3 separate regions of the Homo sapiens genome follow, and regions 1 and 2 are each linked to region 3. Evidence: promoter capture Hi-C in 16 types of primary human blood cells and fetal thymus (Javierre and others, 2016). All regions are on one chromosome and are shown on one strand. The core of a region is centred on a gene start or on the middle of the fragment in contact, and the rest is flanking DNA. Distances in the headings are between cores, read along the strand shown. Region 1 has its middle 25 kb from the start of IFITM10. Region 2 holds the start of KRTAP5-4 (keratin associated protein 5-4). Region 3 holds the start of MRPL23-AS1 (MRPL23 antisense RNA 1).

Evidence for each region. Contacts are between HindIII fragments. The CHiCAGO score rates a contact against its expected background, and 5 or more counts as called.
Region 1: a fragment that was not itself captured here is called in contact with the fragment with the promoter of MRPL23-AS1 in region 3 in 1 of 17 cell types (M1 macrophages); the score reaches 6.4 in M1 macrophages.
Region 2: a contact is called between a fragment that was not itself captured here and the fragment with the promoter of MRPL23-AS1 in region 3, in 1 of 17 cell types (M2 macrophages). The highest score is 5.4, in M2 macrophages.

The regions. Positions count from the first base shown.
Region 1 is chr11:1,724,470-1,727,169 of GRCh38, reverse strand. No RefSeq gene overlaps it. Among named protein-coding and RNA genes, the nearest start is that of IFITM10, 25 kb to the left of the region's middle. The HindIII fragment of the contact is 2,242 bases long and covers 202-2,443 here.
Region 2 is chr11:1,621,748-1,624,447 of GRCh38, reverse strand. KRTAP5-4 (keratin associated protein 5-4) reads left to right here and starts at 2,310. Exons shown (of 1, transcript NM_001347674.1): 1 at 2,310-2,700. The coding sequence starts at 2,355. The HindIII fragment of the contact is 1,135 bases long and covers 799-1,933 here.
Region 3 is chr11:1,988,621-1,991,320 of GRCh38, reverse strand. It overlaps MRPL23-AS1 (MRPL23 antisense RNA 1), which reads left to right and starts at 1,401. Exons shown (of 4, transcript NR_024471.1): 1 at 1,401-1,495. LINC01219 (long intergenic non-protein coding RNA 1219) reads right to left here and starts at 225. Exons shown (of 3, transcript NR_126400.1): 1 at 62-225. It also overlaps a transcript of MRPL23 not described here. RefSeq lists enhancers at 1-2,700, 1-2,700. The HindIII fragment of the contact is 17,986 bases long and covers 1-2,700 here.

The DNA.
Region 1 (2,700 bases), core at 73-2,572, 260 kb after region 3:
CCAGACAAATGTAATTAGGCACACTCTCACTCTGCAGTTTGTCTTTTCACTGTCTTAATGTTATATTCTGATAACTAAGTTATTTTTTATTAAATTCCATTTATAATTTTTATCTTGTATGACTGATGTTTTTCATGTCCTGTTAATTTTTAATTTCTTTTTTCTTTATTTTTTTTTTACTCACTTCAGGGTCATGAAGCTTTTCTCTTAATAGCTTTATTGTTCTGCCTTTTGGATCTAGGTCTGTGCTCCACCTTGGATGAATTTTTGTGTATGATGTGAGGTGGGAGGTCGGGGGAGCTGAGGACACTGTAGGTCCTCCACCCAGGTCTGCTTGGGTCATACCACTGTTCCTCTGTGCCCCACCCCCAGCCTCAGTGTGCATCTGTCTCCAAGAGTCCACGACTGAGATGGTACTTGGGAAGACCCTGTATCTGGACTTCATATCCCTTTCACAGTCTTTAGTCACTGCTGTTTCCGGCTGGAGCCCCAAAGCCAAGCTCCCCTGTCTGCATCAAGATAAACTTATGATCTATGATCAAGAGTTGCCATTGATTAGGCAGAAGCTGGGCCTGCACAGAAACCCCCACTCTCCTGAAATCTTACTTCCCTTCCCCCATTTTCCTAGGAGCATGTCCCCAGTAAATTACAGACATGGAGATCTTCTCACTTCTGGTTCTGCTGCCGGAGAACCTGAACCAACTCCGGGGCAATGTTAGTATTTTTATTCTTCCCATAGAGACGTCCCAGTGCTGCCATGTCCCTCATGGAGAAGACCATCTTTCCCCCACTAAGTTGCAGGGGCCCTCAGTGGTTTGTTGGGTGGCCGTAGAGACGTGGTGCATGTGTTTCTGGACTTCAGTCTGTCCCACTGGTCTATTTATCTGACTTTACAGCAGCATCAGACTGTCTCCATTCCTGTGGGAATACTATCTGTATTAAGTCTTCATAACTGGTAATGTTTTTCAAGGAATTTTTCCATTTCATTGAAGCTGCCAGATGTATTGACATAAAGTTGTTCATAGTATATTTTTATTCCATTTTGGATGTCTGTACCCACATTTTCATTTCTGATCATCCTATTTCATACTCTTGACAACTTTTGATTCTCTTTATTCTTGGTCAGTCTTGTAGATAATTATCAATATACTTATTTAAAAAAGAAAAGTTTGCCTGTGGGTCTTTCCATTGTGTGTCTGCTTTTCATTTCATTAATTTTTGTTCCTAACTTTATTATTCCCTTTCTTGTAATTTCTTTGGGTTTAAATTGCTGTTTTTCCCTCCAGCCTCTTTGGTGAATAATTCTTTTTAACTTTCTTTTTTCATAATATAATGAATTAATTTAAATCCATAAATATCCTACAAGTTTTGATATTATATATGTTTTATTATCATTTGTTTCAATATAGTTTCTGAGTTCTATCCTGATTTCTTTTTTGAATCCTTGATTACATAGACACTTGGTTAATTTGCAGACATTCAGATTTTTTTTTTTCTGAGACGGAGCCTCGCTCTGTCACCCAGGCTGGAGTGCAGTGGCACCACCATCTCGGCTCACTGCAAGCTCCGCCTCCCGGGTTCACACCATTCTCCTGCCTCAGCCTCCCGAGTAGCTGGGACTACAGGCGCCTGTCACCTCGCCCGGCTAATTGTTTTGTATTTTTAGTAGAGACGGGGTTTCACCGTGTTAGCCAGGATGGTCTCGATCTCCTGATCTCGTGATCTGCCCACCTCGGCCTCCCAAAGTGCTGGGATTACAGACGTGAGCCACCGTGCCCGGCAGACATTCAGATTTTTATAGTGATTATTATTGTTTTTTTCTTTGAGACAGAGTTTCGCTCTACACTCGCCCCCACTGGAGTGCAGTGGCGCAATCTCAGCTCACTGCGACTTCCGCCTTCCAGGTTCAAGCGATTCTCCTGCCTCAGCGTCCCGAGTAGGTAGGACTACAGGCACCCACCACTACGCCCAGCTAATTTTTTGCATTTTTAGTAGAGACCATGTTGGCCAGGCTGGTCTCAAACTCCTGGCCTCAGGTCATCTGCCCGCCTCGGCCTCCCAAAGTGCTGGGATTAAAGGCGTGAGCCACCACGCCCGGCCTGTAGTTATCCTTCTGTTCTCAGTATCTGGCTTTATTTTTACTATTGTCAGGGAACATTCCCTAGATCATTTCAATACTTTAACAATGCATGAGGCTTCTTTTTGAAGCAGATTTTGGTCTGTTCCTGTAACTGTGTCTATGTGCACTTGAAAAGATGTTTATTTTCCAGTTATTGGCTGTAAATTTTAATTATTTCCAGTGGTTAATTATGTTGTTGAAATCTTCTCCTGCCTTACTGATTTCATTTTCAGTCTAATTGTCCTATCAGTTGCTGAGAGACGTGCATTACGGCCTCCAACTCTGATTGTAGATTTGTCTATGTCTCCTTGCCACTGTCAAGCTTTGCTTTTGCGTATTTTAAGCAACGCTATCAGATGAATGGAAGTTTAGAATTGTCGTGTCTTTTTGATTGATCTTTTTGAAATTATCAAGTGATTCATTTTATTGGTAGCAATATTTCTTTTATTAAGTCTACTTCCTTTCTGATGTTTATTTAACTACCTCTGCTTTCTTTTGGGTAATGTTTGTAAGCTATATCATATTTCGATTCCAATCTGTGCATATCCTTTAATTATATCTTTTATAAAAAACTATTTATG
Region 2 (2,700 bases), core at 117-2,616, 370 kb after region 3:
GGCAGAGTTTGCAGTGAGCTGAGATCACATCATTGCACTCCAGCCTGGGTGAAAGAGCAAAACTCCGTCTCAAAAAATAAACAAATAAACAAAATAAAACTTACTCTATAATTTTACCATCTCAACTGAGAGCCCTATTAAAGTTAGTATGCCATATTTGTAATTTGCTGCCATATTTGTTATTATTTGTTGCATAACTCAACCATTTGCAGGAAATCTACTTTTGTCTCCCGGATGACAAGTTTGCTTAGAAAGGTTTGTCTCCTTCCTTTCCTCCTCCTTTTGTTTTTTAAGGTTTGTTTTCATAGCTGTTACAGAATCTCATGTTACCTCTCTTGGGTTTGGCCAATCCTGTCTAGATCTTCTACCTATGTTGAAACAAAATGGGATGCTCCTGGTTCCCTTTACCCAGCACCTGAGGGCGGAGCTGCCAAGCTCTGGTGAGCACCTGGGGTGCGTGATGGTCTGCTCATGTCCAGTGCGGCCTCGCGCAGGGCTGGTGGGGGACAGCTTTGTTAGGATGCCTGGGCTCTGTGCTCACAATCCAGGTCTTATGAAGTGTCCCCATCCCAGCCTCACCGCGCCTAGTCGGGAGGCGTGAACTGTTGCCACACAGGGCTGCATCCTCTGACCCAGTGTGTTCCCTAGGAAGAAGCCATTTTCAGCACAGCAGGCACTTCCCTCTCTGTGGGTTTCTCTCAGTCCCCTGCCCCACAGCTCCCATTAGCAATGGGAACGACGGAACCTATAACCCCTCTCTCGCCTCTTCCAGATAAGACAAGGCCTTTATCCCAAGCTTGAAAGACATTCTTTTTTTTTTTTTTCTTTTTTTTTTTTTTGAGATGGAGTCTTGCTCTGTCGCCCAGGCTGGAGTGCAGTGGCACGATCTCGGCTCACTGCAAGCTCCGCCTGCCGGGTTCACGCCATTCTCCTGCCTCAGCCTCCCAAGGAGCTGGGACTACAGGCGTCTGCCACCACGCCCGGCTAATTTTTTTTTGTATTTTTAGTAGAGACGGGGTTTCACCATGTTAGCCAGGATGGTCTCGATCTCCTGACCTCGTGATCCGCCCGCCTGGGCCTCCCAAAGTGCTGGGATGACAGGCGTGAGCCAGCGCGCCCGGCTGAAAGACATTCATTTTTATACCATCTAATAATGTTGGCGAGGCTAAAAATGACAATTAAGACAAAGTGAGAATGGCTTTTAAAAACGTCAGAAATTAAACTCAAGTACATGCCTGTGGAAAAACAAAGTACACTGTTTGAACACAAGGGATTTGTTCTCTCAATATCCAAATAACTTTTAAAGCAGTAATGAGAAGTCAAAAAGGTATAAATTTTTTTTTTTTTTTTTTGAGACGGAGTCTTGCTCTGTCGCCCAGGCTGGAGTGCAGTGGCATGATCTCGGCTCACTGCAAGCTCCACCTCCCAGGTTCACACCATTCTCCTGCCTCAGCCTCCTGAGTAGCTGGAACTACAGGCGCCCGCCACCACGCCCGGCTAACTTTTTGTACTTTTAGTAGAGACGGGGTTTCACCATGTTAGCCAGGATGTTCTCGATCTCCTGACCTCGTGATTCGCCCACCTTGGTCTCCCAAAGTGCTGGGATTATAGGTGTGAGCCACTGTGCCTGGCCAATAAAAAAGTATATAATTTATATTGGAGTAAAAGAATCACCCTCACTAATAGTTAATTGAAGAGATTAACAACAGGATGATAAATGAGATCCCCCATCCACCCATGAAATTCCTGAGATTTTTAACATAAACAATACTCACCACGTGAGGCTGTGTATGCAGCAGCCAGGAGTCCTGAGCACCCCACGACCTGAGGCTGGCGGAGGAGAGATTCACTGCAGTGCACCAATGTGTTAAGACAGAACCAAGATACAACGTTGGTTCCTCAATTAGCCTCTTTAATTATATGGATGAAAGCTTAGTTTTTAAAAAATTATCTTCACACAAAGTTCACAGTTTCAAAGAAAAATATAATGCCATAGGTGGGAAGAAAAGATGGGAAGAAAACAACCAAAATGATCTTTGTAGAAAACCCATCCTCTGCCCATCACATGAGGAAAACAGAAGGCAGGTGATCAGTTCAGTACAAGGTCCAGTTCCAAGGAGGAAGTGACTACATTTAGAAACATAAGCAGGTGGGTGTTGGATCAGGCCAATGAGAACCCGAAGTCCAGCAAACAAATAATCACATACCCAGGAAGTGCTGGGAATGATGGAGTGACCAAGGTCTCAGAGCAACCCTACCCAGGGATATAAGGGGGTCCAGGCTCAGGGGGCTCCACACCTGCACCTCCATCTCATCTGCTCCTCTACCTGCTCCACCCTCAATCCACCAGAACCATGGGCTGCTGTGGCTGCTCTGGAGGCTGTGGCTCCGGCTGTGGGGGCTGTGGCTCCGGCTGTGGGGGCTGTGGCTCTGGCTGTGGGGGCTGTGGCTCCGGCTGTGGGGGCTGTGGCTCCGGCTGTGGGGGCTGTGGCTCCAGCTGCTGTGTGCCCATCTGCTGCTGCAAACCTGTGTGCTGCTGTGTGCCAGCCTGTTCCTGCTCCAGCTGTGGCTCCTGTGGGGGCTCCAAGGGGGGCTATGGCTCTTGTGGGGGTTCCAAGGGGGGCTGTGTCTCCTGTGGGGGTTCCAAGGGGGGCTGTGGCTCCTGTGGGGGCTCCAAGGGGGGCTGTGGCTCCTGTGGGG
Region 3 (2,700 bases), core at 152-2,651:
CACCGTTGGCCCCCTTCCAGGGCTGAGGGAAGCCAGCGGGGGCCCCTTCCTGGAAGCCCACCTGCAGGCCGGCTTGCTGGGAAGGGGCTGCTCTCGCAGAGGCTCCCGCCCGCCCTGCAGCCGTTTCCTGGAAGCAGTCGCTGTGGGTATTCTGTTCCTTGTCAGCACTGTGCTTGCAAAGAAAGCAGACACTGTGCTCCTTGTCCTTAGGGAGCCCCGCTCCATCACCCAACACCTGGCTGGACACAGGCGGGAGGCCGGGTCCGCGGGGAGCGGCGCGGGGCTGGGGCCGGACCAGTAAACACACACGGGCGCCAGGCACTGCAGGCTCCTCCTCCTCCTCCTGCCCAGCGCCTCTGCTCACAGGCACGTGCCAAGCCCCTAGGCCAGGAGGCCCAGCAGTGGGTGCAGAGCAAGCTCCTGGGAAGGGGGTGCAGGGCGGACCCCCGGGGAGAAGGGCTGGCAGGGCTGTGGGGGACGCTGACCGTGGGCCCCACGTTGCAGAAAACTGGCTGCCTGGCTGGAAGATGGGGGAGATGCCAAGCCTCTGAGGCAGCACGAGCAGGGTGCATGGAGGCCGGGGCGCGGGGAGGCTGCACTGCAGCATGCACCCCAAAGCCCAGAGGGAGTGGAGACCAGGCCCTGGAATCGAGAAGTAGAAAGGCGGCTTGGAGGCCTCGGAACCGGCTGACCTCCAACAGAGTGGGGCCGGCCCTGGAGGCAAAGAGGTGCCCGGGGTCCGGCCCTGCCTGGGGGAGCTATGTGTCATGGGCAGCCACAGGATATGTAGCCAGCTCTGAGCATATGGACCCAGGGCAGGGCTGCAAGGCAGGGCAGGGGAGACAGACGGGGGAGCAAGGAGCAGAGAGGGGGCCTCAGGCTCTCCCAGGAGGAACATTCTCCCGACAGGAGGAAGAGACGGCCCAGGGGTGACTGTGGGGAGCCATGGTGGCAGCTGGGGTCGTGGCAGATGGGAGAGAGGCTGGCGAGGTGAAGGTGCAGGGGTCAGGGCTCTGGGGCCCACATGCCTGTGGGAGCGGGCAGGCCCAGGGCTCTCCGCCACTCCCCACTCCCGCTTGGCTCATAGGCTGGGCCCAAGGGTGGGGTGGGATGAGCAGGAGATGGGGCCCAGGGGGCAAGCAGGGCCCCAAAGACATTTAGAAAAACCGGTTTATGCAGGCAGCATTCAGAGCAGGCGGCGTGCGTGGCGGGGGCCCTGGGAGCACAGAGAGGCACACGTAGGGCCCCCGAGGGTCTCCCCATTGGCCGGCAGTGACATCACCCCTGTGTCAACAGTGATGTCTGCAGCTCCGGCCAGCCAGGGTTTATGGAGCGAGACCCAGCCCGGCCTGGGCCCTCACTCCCCAGGCCCACACACTAGCCCACTGTTCAGGGTCCGGGGTGGCAGCATGGCCTGGGGGTCCTGGCACCGCTGCTCCTCTGCCCACCCTAACTTCCCGGCATGGCGGCTGCCCCCTCTGAGCGTCCCCAACCAGTAAGTGTGGGGCCAGCAGGCCTGCCGTCCTCCTCCTCTTCCCTCTAGAGAGAAACGTGGAGGTCCTGGGGCTGGGGGCGCTCATAGCCCTGTGACACAGGTGCATGGGGTCAGGGGTCCCAGAATGGCCCCTGGGAAGGACCTCAGCTGGGCCGGCGGCTCTAGGCTTCAGGGGTCTGTCTGCACAGGGGCTAGCCCCTCCCAGACCTCTGTGAAGCCAGTACGGGCCTCCCCTCCCTGCCCCGTGCTCTGTCCGGTGCTTCCTGGACTGCACTGCGGGCCACTGGTGAGAGGGTGGACAGGGAAGGGCCGCCGTGGTGCCTGTTCCTGCCCACCTGGCTGTGTGGTCCCCTCCAAGTAGGGACAACCCTTCTGAGGGCTTGGGGGCACCCTGGGGTTGCCAGGGCCTCCCAGAGCCCTGTGAGCCCCTGGGGGGTCTGGCCTGATGCCCCCCTCCACGTCCAGGGCCGGCTGTGGCCCAGAACCCCAGCTTCCCAGCAGGCCGGTGTGCGGTGGTGACCCAGGAGAGGCCTCACCTCCACTGAGGGGCCACCGACCTCTGCCAGGCCACAGAGACCCCCAAGGAGTCTGAAGGCTGGAGACCCGGGGCTGGGACCAGGTGGGACTTTCCCACGGAGCCGCCCCCAGGCCCAGCTGGGGACACGTCCCCCTTCTCTCCAGACACACCCTGCCTGCCACCACGACACACCGGCCTGTTGGGGGTCTCTTTTAAGTGCTTGCCACTCTGAGGTGACTGTCCCTTTCCAAAGAGGTTTCTGGGGCCCAGGTGGGATGCGTCGGCCTGAGCAGGAGGATCTGGGCCGCCAGGGGCTGGGGACTGTCTCCTGGGGAAGGAAGCGCCTGGGAGCGTGTGTGCTGACCCAGGACCATCCAGGGAGGCCCGTCTGTGGGGCAAGCGGGAAGGGAGCGGCTGGAGAGGCTTGGCCGCCCCCGCCCTGCCTCCCATTCCTTAGCTCCATGCCTGTCAACCTCTGTCACCCAGTGAGTGATGTCCAGGGGCCCTGGAAAGGTCACAGCATGTTTGAGCGGGGTGAGAGAGAGGGGAAAGGCGGGGGCGGGGAAAAGTACGTGGAGGAAGCTCTAGGCCCAAGGAAGGAGAAAGGGTTCTGGGAGGGAGGGAGCCACTGGGGCCGCCGGGAAGGTCCCTGCCTGCTGCTGCCACCCAGAACCCTCGCCTCTTAGCT